Regions from separate parts of the Homo sapiens genome. Here regions 1, 2, 3 and 5 are each linked to region 4. The links are contacts of gene promoters, found by promoter capture Hi-C in blood cells and fetal thymus (Javierre and others, 2016). All regions are on one chromosome and are shown on one strand. Each heading gives the region's core, a stretch centred on a gene start or on the middle of the fragment in contact. The rest is flanking DNA. Distances are from core to core; before and after follow the strand shown. Region 1 has its middle 3.2 kb from the start of EIF2B3. Region 2 overlaps PTCH2 (patched 2). Region 3 has its middle 1.8 kb from the start of POMGNT1. Region 4 holds the start of AKR1A1 (aldo-keto reductase family 1 member A1). Region 5 overlaps ZSWIM5 (zinc finger SWIM-type containing 5).

Region 1 (2,700 bases), core at 43-2,542, 560 kb before region 4:
GGTGTACTTGCCACCAGTGCCATTATGGCATGTGAAGTCACCACCCTGACACATAAACCCTGGAATAATTCTGTGAAAGCAGGAACCTTTATAACCAAATCCTTTCTCTACATTGCTCAGAGCACGAAAGTTTTCTGCTGCCTTTGGAACCTTGTCTGCAAACGGCTCGAAGGACACGCGGCCCAAGGGCTTGCCGTCGACAGCGATGTCGAACACGGTGGGGTTAACCATGGCTGATCGTACAGAGCTCCTGGCGTCGGTGGCTGCATTTGCAAAGCCGAGACCCTGCTTTTAACAAAACAATAATAGGCCAGGTGCGGTGGCTCACGCTTGTAATCCCAGAAGTTTAGGAAGTGAGGCGGATGGATCCCTTGGGCCCAGGAGTTCGAGACTAGCCTGGGCAACGTAGTGAAACACCCTCTCTACTAAAAATACAAAAATTAGTCAGGTGTGGTGCCGCGCTGTGGGGTTCCAGCTACTTGGAAGGCTGAGGCAGGAGGATCGCTGGAGCCCAAGAGGCAGAGGTGGCAGTGAGCCAATATGGTATCACTGCACTTCAGCCTGGGTAACAAAGAGACAGGATCTCTAAGTAAATAAAATAAATATTAAAAAATGACGAATAGATAATAAAATAATTGTTGTTCTAAGCTCTACGGTTTGGAGTGGTTTATCAAGTTGCACTAGATAACAGGACCAATGGCCATTCTCTTTTTCCCATGCATTCCTGCAATTTCCTAATCTTTTGAAAGCTTCCTTTTTTTTCGATTAATTAATTTTTTTTTTTTTTTGAGACAGTCTCACTCTGTCACCAGGCTGGAGTTCAGTGGCACAATCTTGGCTCACTGCAACCTCTGCCTCCTGGGTTCAAGTGATTCCTGCGTCAGCCTCCCGAGTAGCTGGGACTACAGGCATGCGCCACCACGCCTGGCTAATTTTTGTATTTTTAGTAGACAAGGGGTTTCATCAGATAGGCCAGGATGGTCTTGAACTCCTGACCTCGTGATCTGTTCGCCTCGACCTCCCAAAGTGCTGGGACACAGCCGTGAGCCACCGTGCCCAGCCTGATTCATCTCTTAAATCTTGAGTTGCTTTAGCTTCCTGCCAGTTAAAAGGTAGAGCATGATTTCTGTAATAAAAATAAAGGAGCTTGACTTCATTCAACAATATTTATTCATTTATTTTTAGAAATGAGGTCAGCTTATGCTGCCCAGGCTGGACTCAAACTCCTGGGCTCAACGATCGTCTTGCCTCAGCTTCCCAAGTAGCTAGGACTACAGGTATGTGCCATGGAGGACTGGCTTCAACAATATCTTGAGTGCCTAATATGTGCCAAGCAGTGTCTTAGATGCTTGGTGTTGCAGATACAGCAGTTAATGATTAGGACTTGTCATTTTTTCCAGAAGGAGGTCTGCTTAGACCCTGAAAAAAAAAGGGGGGGACTCATATCCTAAAACCAGCCTATCTTTGCCTTGCCATGAACTGACTGATCTGGCCACAGGAGGCCTGAAGTCTGACTACCCCTCTATAGAAACACAGAGATATTCTCTCTTTGGTATTACCTCAACCAAGACTTGGAAATTACAGCATGGGTTTGAGGTAAGAACTAATTATAAGTAAGAAGAGCAGTCAGCCCCATATCTGCCATCCATTTCAAATCCTTATGTTTAAACTAGCAAATGTTTTTCAACGAACTAGAGGGTTTTCTCTTCTATTGTGGAAAGTAGTTGAGAGATTGCTTCAGTTTAAACTCACTTTAAATTATTCCCTGAGGGCAACAATTCTCAAACTTTTTCATCTCTAGACTCTTCATACTTAAAAATTACTGAGGACCCCAGAAAGCTTTTGTTTATATGGATTATATTTATCAATATTTACCATATCGAAAAAAAATTATTTTTTTGACACGGAGTTTTGCTCTTGTTGCCCAGGCTGGAGTGCAATGGCACGATCTCAGCTCACTGCAACCTCTGCCTCCCGGGTTCAAGCGATTCTCCTGCCTCAGCCTCCCAAGTAGCTGGAATTTACAGGCATGCGCCACCACACCCAGCTGATTTTGTATTTATAGTAGAGACGGGGTTTCTCCATGTTGGTCAGGCTAGTCTCAAACTCCTGACCTCAGGTGATCCGCCCGCCTTGACCTCCCAAAGTGCTGGGATTACAGGCATGAGCCATTGTGCCTGGCCAACTACATTTTCAAAACAAAAAGTTTAGTGAGATGAATGCCATTGTTTCACCTTTTTGAATAGTCTCTTTAGGGTCTGGCTTAATAGAAAACAGCTTGATTTTTCCATTATTGTAATATATTATTTTGGTTTAATTATATCATAAAAATGTGACTTCACATAGATACATAGTTGGTAAGAGATAGAGCTTTTAATAGCCTTTTCAGATAATTATAGGTATTCTTTGACACTATACCAAAATTCAATAAGTGGTAGTTTGTTAAAGGTTTGTTGCAATGTAGAATCGGAAATTATATCAATGAACATTTTGTACCTTGTTACAGTACTTGCACTTTGAATGGACATTTTACCCATGCATGACCTTGCAACTTGGTATACAAATAATATGTAAAATATTCGTTCACAGAGTTATGCAGATCTTCCTAACATTGACTCATTATACAATATTTTAAAATCACATTTGTTAATATCACTAACAATTTCATCAGAAAAATTCTTAAATATTAGAAAGCTGGGA
Region 2 (2,700 bases), core at 152-2,651, 720 kb before region 4:
ACCACTTGAGGGCTCCGTAGGATAACTGAATGGGAATGGAACATTGGGGGCCTGGCACTGTGGGAGCAGGGTAATAATGGCCAGGAAGTGGGGGGTCAGGGCACAGAGCAGTCAGCTCCCCCAGAACACAGGAGTATGAGGAAGGGAAAGGGAAGGAAAACAGCCTTTCCCTGGCAGACCTGGTTGGAACCCACCTGCCTGCTGTGATGGTTGGGGGCACTAGGTGGGCAGTGGAGGTCATCAGGGTGCAGACAGGGCCGCCCCACGTAGGCCTGGCCCACCTGTGCCTTGTCTAGCAGCTCCCGGAAGCCCTCAAGGGAGGCAAAGGGACCCAGCTCCTCCAGCAGCTGCTCTGGATCCAGGTTGGTCCACTGGATATCCGGGCGGCCGCTGAGGGAAAAGCCTATAGTTGGTGAGGGTCAGGGACGAAAACCCAGGCTCCAAACTGCTGCTGGGGCGCCATGCTGTACCCCACCCTCCTCTTATCTGCCGATTTGTCCTTCCATATGGAGGGTGTGCAAGCCTCAGCTTCTCAGAACTGCCAGGCTGCATGGGCCCACCAGGGTGCTACAGTGAGCTGTAGAAGAGTACAAGGGGCTGAGACGAATATCAGGGCAGGGTTACCTAATACATAGAAAGGGCCCAGAAAGGCCCCACTGAGTTCCTTACCAAGCTGTGTGCTTGGTTCTAATATACAACCAGCAGGCACATGCCTGTAGCAGGTTTTCTTTCTGGCCTGGGCAATGGCTTAGCAAACACCTAGGTAATTTCCCCCAGCAAAGCCTCTTTGTGGGGATCTTTTTCTCCTTTGCTCAGATCTTACAGATCTTTGTGTTTAGTTTTGTGTAAATAAGTCAGGTCTTCCTTCCTTGAGAGGGAAAGAGAAGGAGGATGTGGAGAGAGCCTTGGGGAAGCCCATGCTCTCTGTTCCTGGCCTGGGAGGTAATTAGGACCTTGGTAAGGTTTTGATCATCCTCATTCCCCAGACCCCTCCTTTCTGCTGGGAGAGTCCCCAGCGGGAGATGAAGCAGGGCCCCAGGAGTGGCACTCACGGCAGGTAGGCGGAGCCCCCTTGGAGTTTGGCTCCCTCCCAGAAGCAGTCGAGGGGGGTGAGGATCACGCACGGAAACAGCTTCTCAATCATCTGCCAGGGATACCCCGGGCCACGTCAGTCCTGCCCCACAACCTTTGTAGGATGCCCTCTGCAATCCCCCTCCTTAGTTTTAAGGGGGCAGATTGCAGGCTGTGGGGCTTGCTCGGTCTCTGAGTCCTCCCACGCTACAGAAAAAGTTCTGCCTCTACTCCCTCTCAGGACACTTACCCGCTCAATCATTCCATTTTCAATAAGGGGAACTCCTGACTTGTAGCAGATTTTGTTCAAATCCCAGGACCTGCAATAGCCAGGGGCATAGGAGATCAGCAGAAGAAGGGGATTCCCACTCCAGAACCCCCACAGCACGCCTCGCCCCCAGCTGCTCAGGGGCTCAGCCAGACTCACTTCCCATAGAGTGATACTTGGACTTTACTGGCAGTGAGGGCTGCCTGGAGGTGGAGGCCAAGTGCTTCGGGTGTGAGGATGTTCTCTCCCTCCTGGCGTGCGGTCTGTATCAGCATCTGAGAGGTGTATGCAGCCTCCTCCCCCAGCTTCTCCTTGGTGTAATGCAGCTCCTGGCTCACCCGGCTGCCCACTGCCAGAGCAAACAGAGAAAGCTGGGGGGGAAAGGGCCTAGGCGGGTCAGAACTTGGGAAGGGGGCTTCTAACTCTGAGGCCTCCCCAGACAAGTGGGAGAGGTGCGGCAGAGAGGAGTCCCTGCCTTATCCCTGAGGGCCTGGTCATGGCCCAGGCCGACTCCCCAGGCTTCTGGGTCCTGGAGCTCTGCCAGGGAAGTGGAGAAGCCTCGGTTGTGTGGCTCTGCGGATTTCTTGTGTGGTCTAGGGCTTAAGCATGAACCAGGTTGGCTGGGTTTTGGGTGTAAACTTAAAAATGACAATCAGCATGAGCTGGCCGTGGGCTGTGGGGGTTGTAGGGGCATCTTGGTAAGGGAACCCTCGCTCAGTCCCTCTCTGTTCTGGTGGGGAGGACAAGGAGGGCCAATAGGGGCCAATAGGGAGGCTGCTGCTAGGAGGGTTTCCTAAAAGAACAGGTGTAGGGCTAGGGCTGGTTCTTAGTTCAGGTTGCTCTGGGCAGTGATTTATATCCACACACCTTTCTGCAAAGTGTCCTAAGGAGAGGGCAGGGATAGGAGTGTCTGATAATAATGGGTGATAATAATGGGCCCTGTGTTGGTGTGGGGGAGAGGGAGGATGGGACAGTCATTCAGTGTGCTGCTCCCACTCAGGCAGAAAGTGCATGGAATCAGCTCACGAACCCTGGCAGGGGTGAAATCAAAGTGGGCCAAGGGGAGGGAGGTGTCCAGATCCTTTTCACCGCCCTCACTGTCCAGACCACAGGGATTCCCGGCGCCAGGCCTGCCATAGTGTCCTGGATCTTAGCGCCCCTCCAGTCCTGCGTTATGCTGGCCACAGGCTCCTGCTCTGTAACTGGGACCTGGGGGAGGTGGGGACATTGTGAGGGGCTATCACCTAACTATGATGTGGGGAAGAGTGAGGGCCAAATCTACCTCTGGAGGCTTTGCGGATTTGGTCTGATCTCAGACCCTGCGCTGTTTCCACCTGTCTGGGGGTCTCCTCCTGTTAGTC
Region 3 (2,700 bases), core at 1-2,500, 650 kb after region 4:
TCCACAACAACCCCATGAGGTAGGCGCTATTATCATTATTATTGTTTTTTTTTTAATTGAGACGGAGTCTCGCTCTGTCGCCCAGGCTGGAGTGCAGTGGCACCATCTCGGCTCGCTGCAACCTCCGCCTTCTGGGTTCAAGCGATTCTCCTGCCTCAGCCTCCTGAGTAGCTGGGACTACGGTCGTGCGCCACCACACCCAGCTAATTTTTATATTTTTAGTAGAGACGGGGTTTCACCATGTTGGCCAGGCTGGTCTTGAACTTCTGACCTCAAGTGATCCGCCCGCCTTGGCCTCCCAAAGTGCTGGGATTATGGGCAGTGAGCCACCGTGCTGGCTATAGGCGCTATTACTATCCCTGTCGCAGATAAAGAAATAAGACCTAATATCACAAAGCTAGGAGAGGTGGAATTGAAACTCAGCCTAGCTCCAGATTCTGCTCTTAACCACTGCACTCTGCTGGCAACAATACATAAGAATTGCCAGGTTTAAATAACATCATACATAGAAAGCAGTTAGCTTAACACAATGGTTCTCAAACTTTAGCTTGCGTCAGAATCACCTGGATGACTTCTTAAAACAGAGGTGCTGGGCCCCATCCCTAGAGTTTTAGATTCAGTGGTCTGGGGCAGGGTGGGATTTTGCATTCCTGAGAAGTTTCTAGGTGATGTTGATGCTTGTTTGAAGTGGATAGCCATAGAACAGTTTTAGGCAGGGGAGCAATATAATCCAATTTCTGTTTTAAGAGAACCTTTACTTTTTTTGTGGAGAATGGGTTGGAAGCAGACAGAGGAAGCCAGAAGACCAGTTAGATTTTTTTGAGCTTTCTGTATTCCATCTGCTTCCTGAATGGTGGGGTAATATCCCCCAAAATGAAATGTTAACAGTACTTGTCTTAGGAGTTAAAGAAATACATGATTTTTCCTAGTAAGTATGTATAAGAATGGAAGAAAACCCAACACATTTTATTACATTTGAAAAGATGTCCCGGCTGGGCACCATGACTCACGTAATCCCAGCAGGTTGGGAGGCCGAGGTGGGGTGGTCAGTTGAGGTCAGGAGTTTGAGACCAGCCTGCCCAACGCGGTGAAACCCCGTCTCTACTAAAAATACAAAAGTTAGCTGGGCGTGGTGACAGGCGCCTATAATCGTAGCTACTCAGGAGGCTGAAGCAGGAGAATCGCTTGAACCTGGGAGACAGAAGTTGCAGTTGAGATTGCACCACTGCACTCCAGCCTGAGTGACAGAGCAAGACTCCGTCTCAAAAAATAAAAAAATAAAAATAAATAATTAAAAGATGTCCCTCAGGGTTCCTTCCTGACCCTCTTTTCTCCTCAAACTGACTCTTCATGGATGATCTCATTCTCTCATGACCTCTGTTACCAATCTAGATGCCCAAACTGACATTGGCAGTTCTAACCTCTTTCCTGAGCTCCAGGCTGCCTGATGTCCAGCAGGACATCTTCACAGGCCCCTCTAACGCAACAGCACAACTTCTGGAATCATTTCCTTTCACTCCTAGATTTCCTGTGGGTTCCCCTCCTCAGTGAACTGCACCAGGCCAAACAGCTGGGAGTCACCCTTGACTCCTTGTCTGTCTCCAGTGACCAGTCCAGGTATGTCTTGCTCACCATTGTATTCTCTACACCACACACAAAGGCTGGCACATAGTAAGCTCTCCGTAACATTTGTTGAAATCATTCATTTGTATTTTTTAACAAATTTTTATTGAATGCCACTATAAATGAATGTAACCAGTCACCTAGTCCTGTCAGTCTTACCTCCTAAAGAGCCTTCCATTCTAGTCTAATTCTTCTTTGACCTCACAATCAGCCCCAGTGCAGGCCATTTCAGTTTCTTGCTTTCCAGCCAGTCTCCTTGACTCTAGATTTTTACTCCTCCTATCCTTTTCTCCTTGCAAAATCCAGAGTGATTTTCTTTAAGGCAAATGTTGCCGGGTTCGGTGGCTCATGCCTGTAATCCCGGCACTTTGGGAGGCCAAGGCGGGTGGATCACCTGAGGCGGATGGATCCGCCTGGCCAACATGGTGAAACCCCGTCTCTACTAAAAATACAAGAATTAGCTGGGTGTTGTGGCAGGTGCCTGTAATTCCAGTTACTCAGGAGGCTGAGGCAGGAGAATGGCTTGAACCTGGGAGGCAGAAGTTGCAATGAGCCAAGATGGTGCCACTGCACTCCAGCCTGGGCAACAGAGCCGGACTCTGTCTCAAAAAAAAAAGACAAATGTTTTGTCTATCTCTAACTTAAAACCCTTCCATGGATCAAAAAGTACCAAGGAAAATGATGTTACTTAAAATTATAAAGGTAGGCCAGGCATGGTGGCTCATGCCTGTAATCCCAGCACTTTGGGAGGCTAAGGTGGGAGGATTGCTTGAGGCCAGGAGTTCGAGACCAGCCTGGGCAACATAGCGAGACTCTATCTAAATTTTAAAAAAAGTTAATTACAAAGGTAACCTTAGATGAACTAAAAAGAGTGATAGAAATATGTAGTGCCAGGCCGGGCGCAGTGGCTCACACCTGTAATCCCAGCACTTTGGGAGGCTGAGGCAGGCAGATCACGAGGTCAAGAGTTCGAGACCAGCCTGACCAACATGGTGAAACCCCCGTCTCTACTAAAAATACAAAAATTAGTCGGGCATGGTGGCACGTGCCTGTAATCCCAGCTACTCAGGAGGCTGA
Region 4 (2,700 bases), core at 110-2,609:
GAGCCACCGCACCCGGCCAAGTCTGATTGTTTTTATGAGGATGGCCTGATACATTAGACATTTGGTCCACCAGGACATCACTTATGTTGGGGAGACAGTGGGGGATAACGGGGGTGGGGAAATGGGAAGAGTTGCTCTCAGGGAGTAAAGGTGTGGGGAAAAGCAGAGCCAAACCGAGATAACCCTGTGTCTTGCCCATCCCTGCCAAGGAAAACACATACATGCAAGACACCTCTCCACTCAAACAGCACAGACTATTTCAAATCGCAGATGTGTCATTTAATTAATACCTGTGTGACTTTGGGAAAATTATAAATAGCCTTAACCTTGCTGAGTCTGTCCAATCTGTAAAATGGATTATGAATACTTTCCTCACAGGCTTATGGTGTGCTGGTAATATCTTCCTCTGGATGGCAGTTACATTGCAAAAAATAATTTAAAAAAAAGAACTGTATACATTTAAGATTTATACATTTTCTTTCTTCCTGGATGTAGAATAGGAAAAAAAGAAAAAGAAAAAAAAAAAGACTGGTGTATTTTCTGTATATATGCTATACTACGATTTTTAAAAAGGCTTGTACGAAATAAAAGAATATTCCTTTTCGGCCAGGCGCAGTGGCTCACTCCTGTAATCCCAGCACTTTGGGAGTCCAGGGCGGGTGGATCACGAGGTCAGGAGTTCAAGACCAGCCTGGCCAAGATGGCGAAACCCCGTCTCTACTAAAAAATACAAAAAAATTAGCCAGGCGTGGTATCGGGCGCCTGTAATCCCAGCTACTCGGGAGGCTGAGGCAGAGAATTGCTTGAACCAGGGAGGCGGAGGTTGCAGTGAGCCAAGATCGCGCCACTGCACTCCAGCCTGGGCGAGAGCGAGATTCCGTCTCAAAAAAAAAAAAAAAAAAGGAATATTCCTTTTCCAGGATTATTATGAAGATTCAATAAAACCATGTTTATTAAGTGTTAAGCACAGTGCCTGGCACATAACGTGCTGGGCGGGGTCTATGGTCCAGACAGGGGGACCAGGCACTTTCCAGCGCCTGGATCTGCAGACGCGAGGTCTTCTGTATTCTGGCCAATCTTGGTGTTGCAGCTGCTCTCTGGGCCTCAGTTTGCTTGAACTAAATGTAACGGGGCCAACTTAGGTGAACTTTGGGAATCCAGCCAACCTGACTTTAGGGAGAGTATGGAGCCACGGATGGCATTGTGAATCCGGAGGGCCGACACCAGAAGAACCTGCAACGTGGCATCTGCTACCTTACTTCCCCCGGAAAAGCGCCTGCGGCGGCGCCTAGGCGCGCGGTGCAATGTGGGCCAGCAAAAGGCGAGGCTGGCCCCGCCCCTTGCACCGCCCACGTGGCCAGCGCCACCTGCCTCATTGTGCCCAGGAGTTCTCCAAACCCGCGCTGCGGAGTGAGTGACCAAGTTCCGGCCAGTTCGACCTCGAGGATCCAGAGGTGGAGACGGTACTACCTCCCAGCTCTGTTTTCCATCCCCTTCAGGTCCTTCCTCGGGAGGCGGCGAAGGCGGTCCACCCTGCGCGTGATCCTTTATGCCCGGCCCCTGCCCCTCCCTCCGGGTGGAACTTCCCCCTCACCGCCAGACTTAAGCTGAGGATCGTTGGATCTCTGGCGGGGTGCAGAACTGAGCCCAGGCCACAGTACCCTATTCACGCTCTGTGCTTGTGCCAAGGTGAGTTTCTCTTGCTGCTGGCCTATCTTTCTCCCGGAGGAGATGGCCTCGATTCTTTACTACTGAAATGTAAGCCCCTGGGGTTGAGTGGAGAGCGCAGAGCACTGGAGGGGACGAGACTTGGTTTCGGATTTGAGCTCTTCTTTTTCTCTGTATGATCTCTTGCTAACTTCCCAGTTTCTCTGAACCTGTTTCCTCAGCAATAAAATGAGGTCCTACATTAGAACTGTAGCAAGAATTGAGATAAAGCTTTGAAGGCGCACAGCGCATACTAGGTGATCTGCAAGTTTTAATTGCCATCTTTTTGTTTGCTCACCTATGTGCTTTTTCCAGCTGCTCCGGCTTTCTTATGCAGGTGCAGGGATAGTTCTCAGAAGTGGGGAGAAGTGGGGATAATTCTCTTACTTAGACACCTGCTTTGGGTCTGAGAAAGTCTGACATGTTATTCTGTTGCCCCAGAACTCTGTTAAAGTAAGACACAGATCTGAACCTTCACTGGATGAGGCTACTGTTAATTAACTCTTCCCCTTCAGATCGTTCATACTCAGGGCTGCAGGCCTGTTACTTTTCCAAGATCTGTTTCCTTATCTTTAATACAGGAGCAATCTCAGTATGATTCTATCTGGTCCACTGGGATTTTTTGCCGAGTATAGTAAAGTGCTTTGATATTCTCCAAGAGGATTCTTTTCAGGTTTTCCAACAGGTAAAGGAAGAAGGTGACAGAGGCAGCGACTTCCTCAAATGTCCTTCCAGCTGGCCAAACTCAACCTGTCAAGATCTCTCCCCCATAAGCTGTGTGTGTGTGGTGTGTGTATTGTGTACATTGTATGTATGTATGTATGTATGTATGTATGTATGTATGTATGGGACAGGTACTCTAGGAGTGAGGGGTTCAGGCAGATGACAGGCTCAGACCTCAAGGAGTAGCCAGGTTTGTGGGGGAAATTTATATATAAACAGAAAAATGTAGTGATGTGCACATGCTATCAGTACATGGAAGTAGCCATCCAT
Region 5 (2,700 bases), core at 184-2,683, 530 kb before region 4:
ATGGCAAGAAATTCTTTATCTGTCAGTCATTCTGCATCTCCTTAGACCACTAGGCACCCACTGTGCTGTAGGCTGAACCAGCTCCCTGGCCCAGCCAGGGCAATGCAGAAAGGAGAGATGGGTTTCATTTAGTGAGAGAACACAATTTCTGCTTTTAGAAAAATGATCTTTTATGTGATCCATGATTTATTCATAGAAAAGCACTGTGAATTCACACACTTGCTAAAAAAGGGCAACTGTGATACAGAAATGAGAGTGGCTTCTCTCTTTTTTTTAACCAACCCATTGGGCTGAGACGTAGGGGCCCTTGGCTGGACAGTAAGACTTGAGTAGCCACAAATGGCAAATACAACTTCTTGGTCAGTTTGGAGTAAAAAAGGTGACAGTTTGTCGAAGAAAGAAAAAGTAAAGCAGATGGAGAAGTTCTTAGTTCACATTCTAGCTATACCACCCCTTCCCTATCAAACCCCACCCCCAACTCAGGAACTAAGACATGAAACAGTAAACACCAAGACACTGGTTCCAACTGACTTTTCTGAGTGCCCTTGCTACCTCCTATAACAATTCCAGGCTGAGCACAGGGGTCAGGAAGGTAGCAGGAACATGATACACTATGGAGGTCAGCCAGGGCTAAGACAGGACTGCCCACTAGGGCTAGAAATTAGGAAGGGAGAGGCTAAGTGCAGACCAGCCCTAGCCTCCAAGTCAGCGAGCAATGAGACTGTGACAAAAGCCGGCGAGGAAGCTTGAGGTAGAAAGGCAGGGGAAGAAAGCAAGTATGAGGCGAGAAGAGAACTATGGAGCTAAAGCAGCCAATCTGATGGCAGAGGGAGATTGGTGCTTAGAAGCTTGTTTGGTGAGAGAATGAATAGAGGAGGCACAGAGATGGGGAACAAACGTTTAGCTGGCGAGAGAGATTTAAGAGGAATGGGAAAGAGAAATCTGGCAAAAAGGACACATTGATGCAGATCCTCAAACATGAATACACAGACATCCCTACATGTAGAAATACGCTCAGTTACACATATAAAGACACAGATGCATGGATAACAAGCATACACATGGATACAAACATGTTTATACACATGCACTCGTGTACGCAGATACACATACTAAACATGCACAAACATGAGTGCATTTGCACAAAGATGTGCATCCTCACATGTACACAAAATGTGTATATCCTCACGTAGAAACTCACAGTCCAGTGTGCACATATTCAAACAGGTACACAGCCATAGAACTGACACATACACATAAATATATATGTGCACAAACAGGCATGCACAGATGTATCTATGTACATACACACATGTACTTAGCCATAAAGATACACACACACAATTATAGATGAAACCACACACTTGCTAACACAAAGGTGACCACAGTAGATGAATATTATGAACTCAGCGGCTTCCCAGACCTTCATCTTCTCCCTGCACTTGTTTCTCAGGTGTTCAGCAGGCTCCTGAAGAGGCTGTGTGAGGCAGGAGCTTCAATGTCCTCACAGTTTTGTGAGGCAAAAGTCTAAGTCCAGTCCTGGCCTCTGTCCCTCACTCACCACTGGACTATAAATGCCCTGTCTGTAGGTGGGGGATTCTGCATAGACTAGACTTGGGTTGATCCTAACTGGCCATTTTTCTCCTTGGCACCCCCACTCTTCCACTGCTACCAGCAAACACTCTGCAAGGGAAACCTGAGAAATGGTTGTGAGTCTCCTCAGAAAATAAGCATATCCTCCTACCCACAGCTACTTCAAGTGCCCATCAAATCAGAAGCAGAATTATAAATAGTTACAAGTTTACAATAATTAGCAACACATATAGTATTTACAGTCCCACAAATGTGTCTGTTTCTCTGGTTAAGCAATCCCTGAGATGGAACAGTGTTCTGTGTTTGCCAAGGGAGACAGGGCCAATGCTCAGGACACGCAGGATATAGGGGCATGAGGTGGCATGTTGTGGGGTTTCTGGTCGATCTGCAGGGCCCAGCTCCTCCATGAACAGTAGGCTGTAGTCAGAAGCTTGCCAAGGTAGGCATTATCGACTAGAGCTGGACTTTCCCCATCCTTAGCCCTGTGGTCCTTTGGCCTCATCCACAGGTGCTCAGAGTTCTCTCAGGGTGGACAAATGTTTCAGTGCCCTTGGCCTGACCTGATACTACCTGGGAACCCAGGCTGCTCTGGCAGTGAGCTATCTGCTCTCTCAGCCAAAGCGCTCTCGCACCAGCAGCATCAACTTTTTCTTGCCTTTGTAGATCTGTTTGAGGTTGTCGATGAACTGGGCAAACTGCAGGTGGCCATCCTGGGGCAGCAGGAAGGTCTCCCGAGCCTTGCTTAGAAACTCAATGAACTCTCCATAGTGGCGAGGGCTGATGTGTGTTAGGCGTGAGTGTGTAGTGTTGATATAGGCATTGATGGTGGCATCCAGCAACTGGCGCAATGGAGCTTTGTCAGTGGACATGAGCTTTCCAGAGCTTCGGCGGCCTGGGATGCCGGCCAGGCCAGGTGCAGTCACTGTGCAGCGTCGTAAGATGTCTGAAAGCACTGTGGCACAGTGCACACTCTTCACCACCAGGGGGATGAGAGCTGCCAGCTCATTCTTGCCCAGAGAGTGGCTGAGAGCACAAGCCCAGAGCACATCATTGATGGCTGGGTGAGTATCCTGGTTGTAGGCCAGGTTAAGATGGCTCATGGCCAAT

What was found. The method cuts DNA at HindIII sites, captures the fragments that hold promoters and counts their contacts. A CHiCAGO score of 5 or more calls a contact.
Region 1: a contact is called between a fragment that was not itself captured here and the fragment with the promoter of AKR1A1 in region 4, in 5 of 17 cell types (activated CD4 T cells, naive B cells, fetal thymus and 2 more). The highest score is 7.3, in activated CD4 T cells.
Region 2: a contact is called between a fragment that was not itself captured here and the fragment with the promoter of AKR1A1 in region 4, in 1 of 17 cell types (naive B cells). The highest score is 5.5, in naive B cells.
Region 3: a contact is called between a fragment that was not itself captured here and the fragment with the promoter of AKR1A1 in region 4, in 1 of 17 cell types (fetal thymus). The highest score is 5.3, in fetal thymus.
Region 5: a contact is called between a fragment that was not itself captured here and the fragment with the promoter of AKR1A1 in region 4, in 9 of 17 cell types (fetal thymus, naive B cells, neutrophils and 6 more). The highest score is 12.4, in fetal thymus.

Annotation. Positions count from the first base shown.
Region 1 is chr1:44,988,495-44,991,194 of GRCh38, forward strand. It overlaps the pseudogene PPIAP35. Among named protein-coding and RNA genes, the nearest start is that of EIF2B3, 3.2 kb to the left of the region's middle. The HindIII fragment of the contact is 1,090 bases long and covers 748-1,837 here.
Region 2 is chr1:44,830,654-44,833,353 of GRCh38, forward strand. PTCH2 (patched 2) reads right to left here. Exons shown (of 22, transcript NM_003738.5): 3 at 1,499-1,688; 4 at 1,322-1,391; 5 at 1,053-1,144; 6 at 195-390. Among named protein-coding and RNA genes, the nearest start is that of PTCH2, 11 kb to the right of the region's middle. The HindIII fragment of the contact is 7,207 bases long and covers 1-2,700 here.
Region 3 is chr1:46,198,902-46,201,601 of GRCh38, forward strand. It overlaps a transcript of POMGNT1 not described here. Among named protein-coding and RNA genes, the nearest start is that of POMGNT1, 1.8 kb to the left of the region's middle. The HindIII fragment of the contact is 5,315 bases long and covers 1-2,700 here.
Region 4 is chr1:45,549,467-45,552,166 of GRCh38, forward strand. It overlaps AKR1A1 (aldo-keto reductase family 1 member A1), which reads left to right and starts at 1,360. Exons shown (of 9, transcript NM_153326.3): 1 at 1,360-1,689. RefSeq lists enhancers at 1,043-1,102, 1,153-1,382, 1,613-1,832. The HindIII fragment of the contact is 4,529 bases long and covers 1-1,936 here.
Region 5 is chr1:45,016,250-45,018,949 of GRCh38, forward strand. ZSWIM5 (zinc finger SWIM-type containing 5) reads right to left here. Exons shown (of 14, transcript NM_020883.2): 14 at 150-2,700. The coding sequence ends at 2,205. Among named protein-coding and RNA genes, the nearest start is that of UROD, 5.3 kb to the left of the region's middle. The HindIII fragment of the contact is 1,175 bases long and covers 847-2,021 here.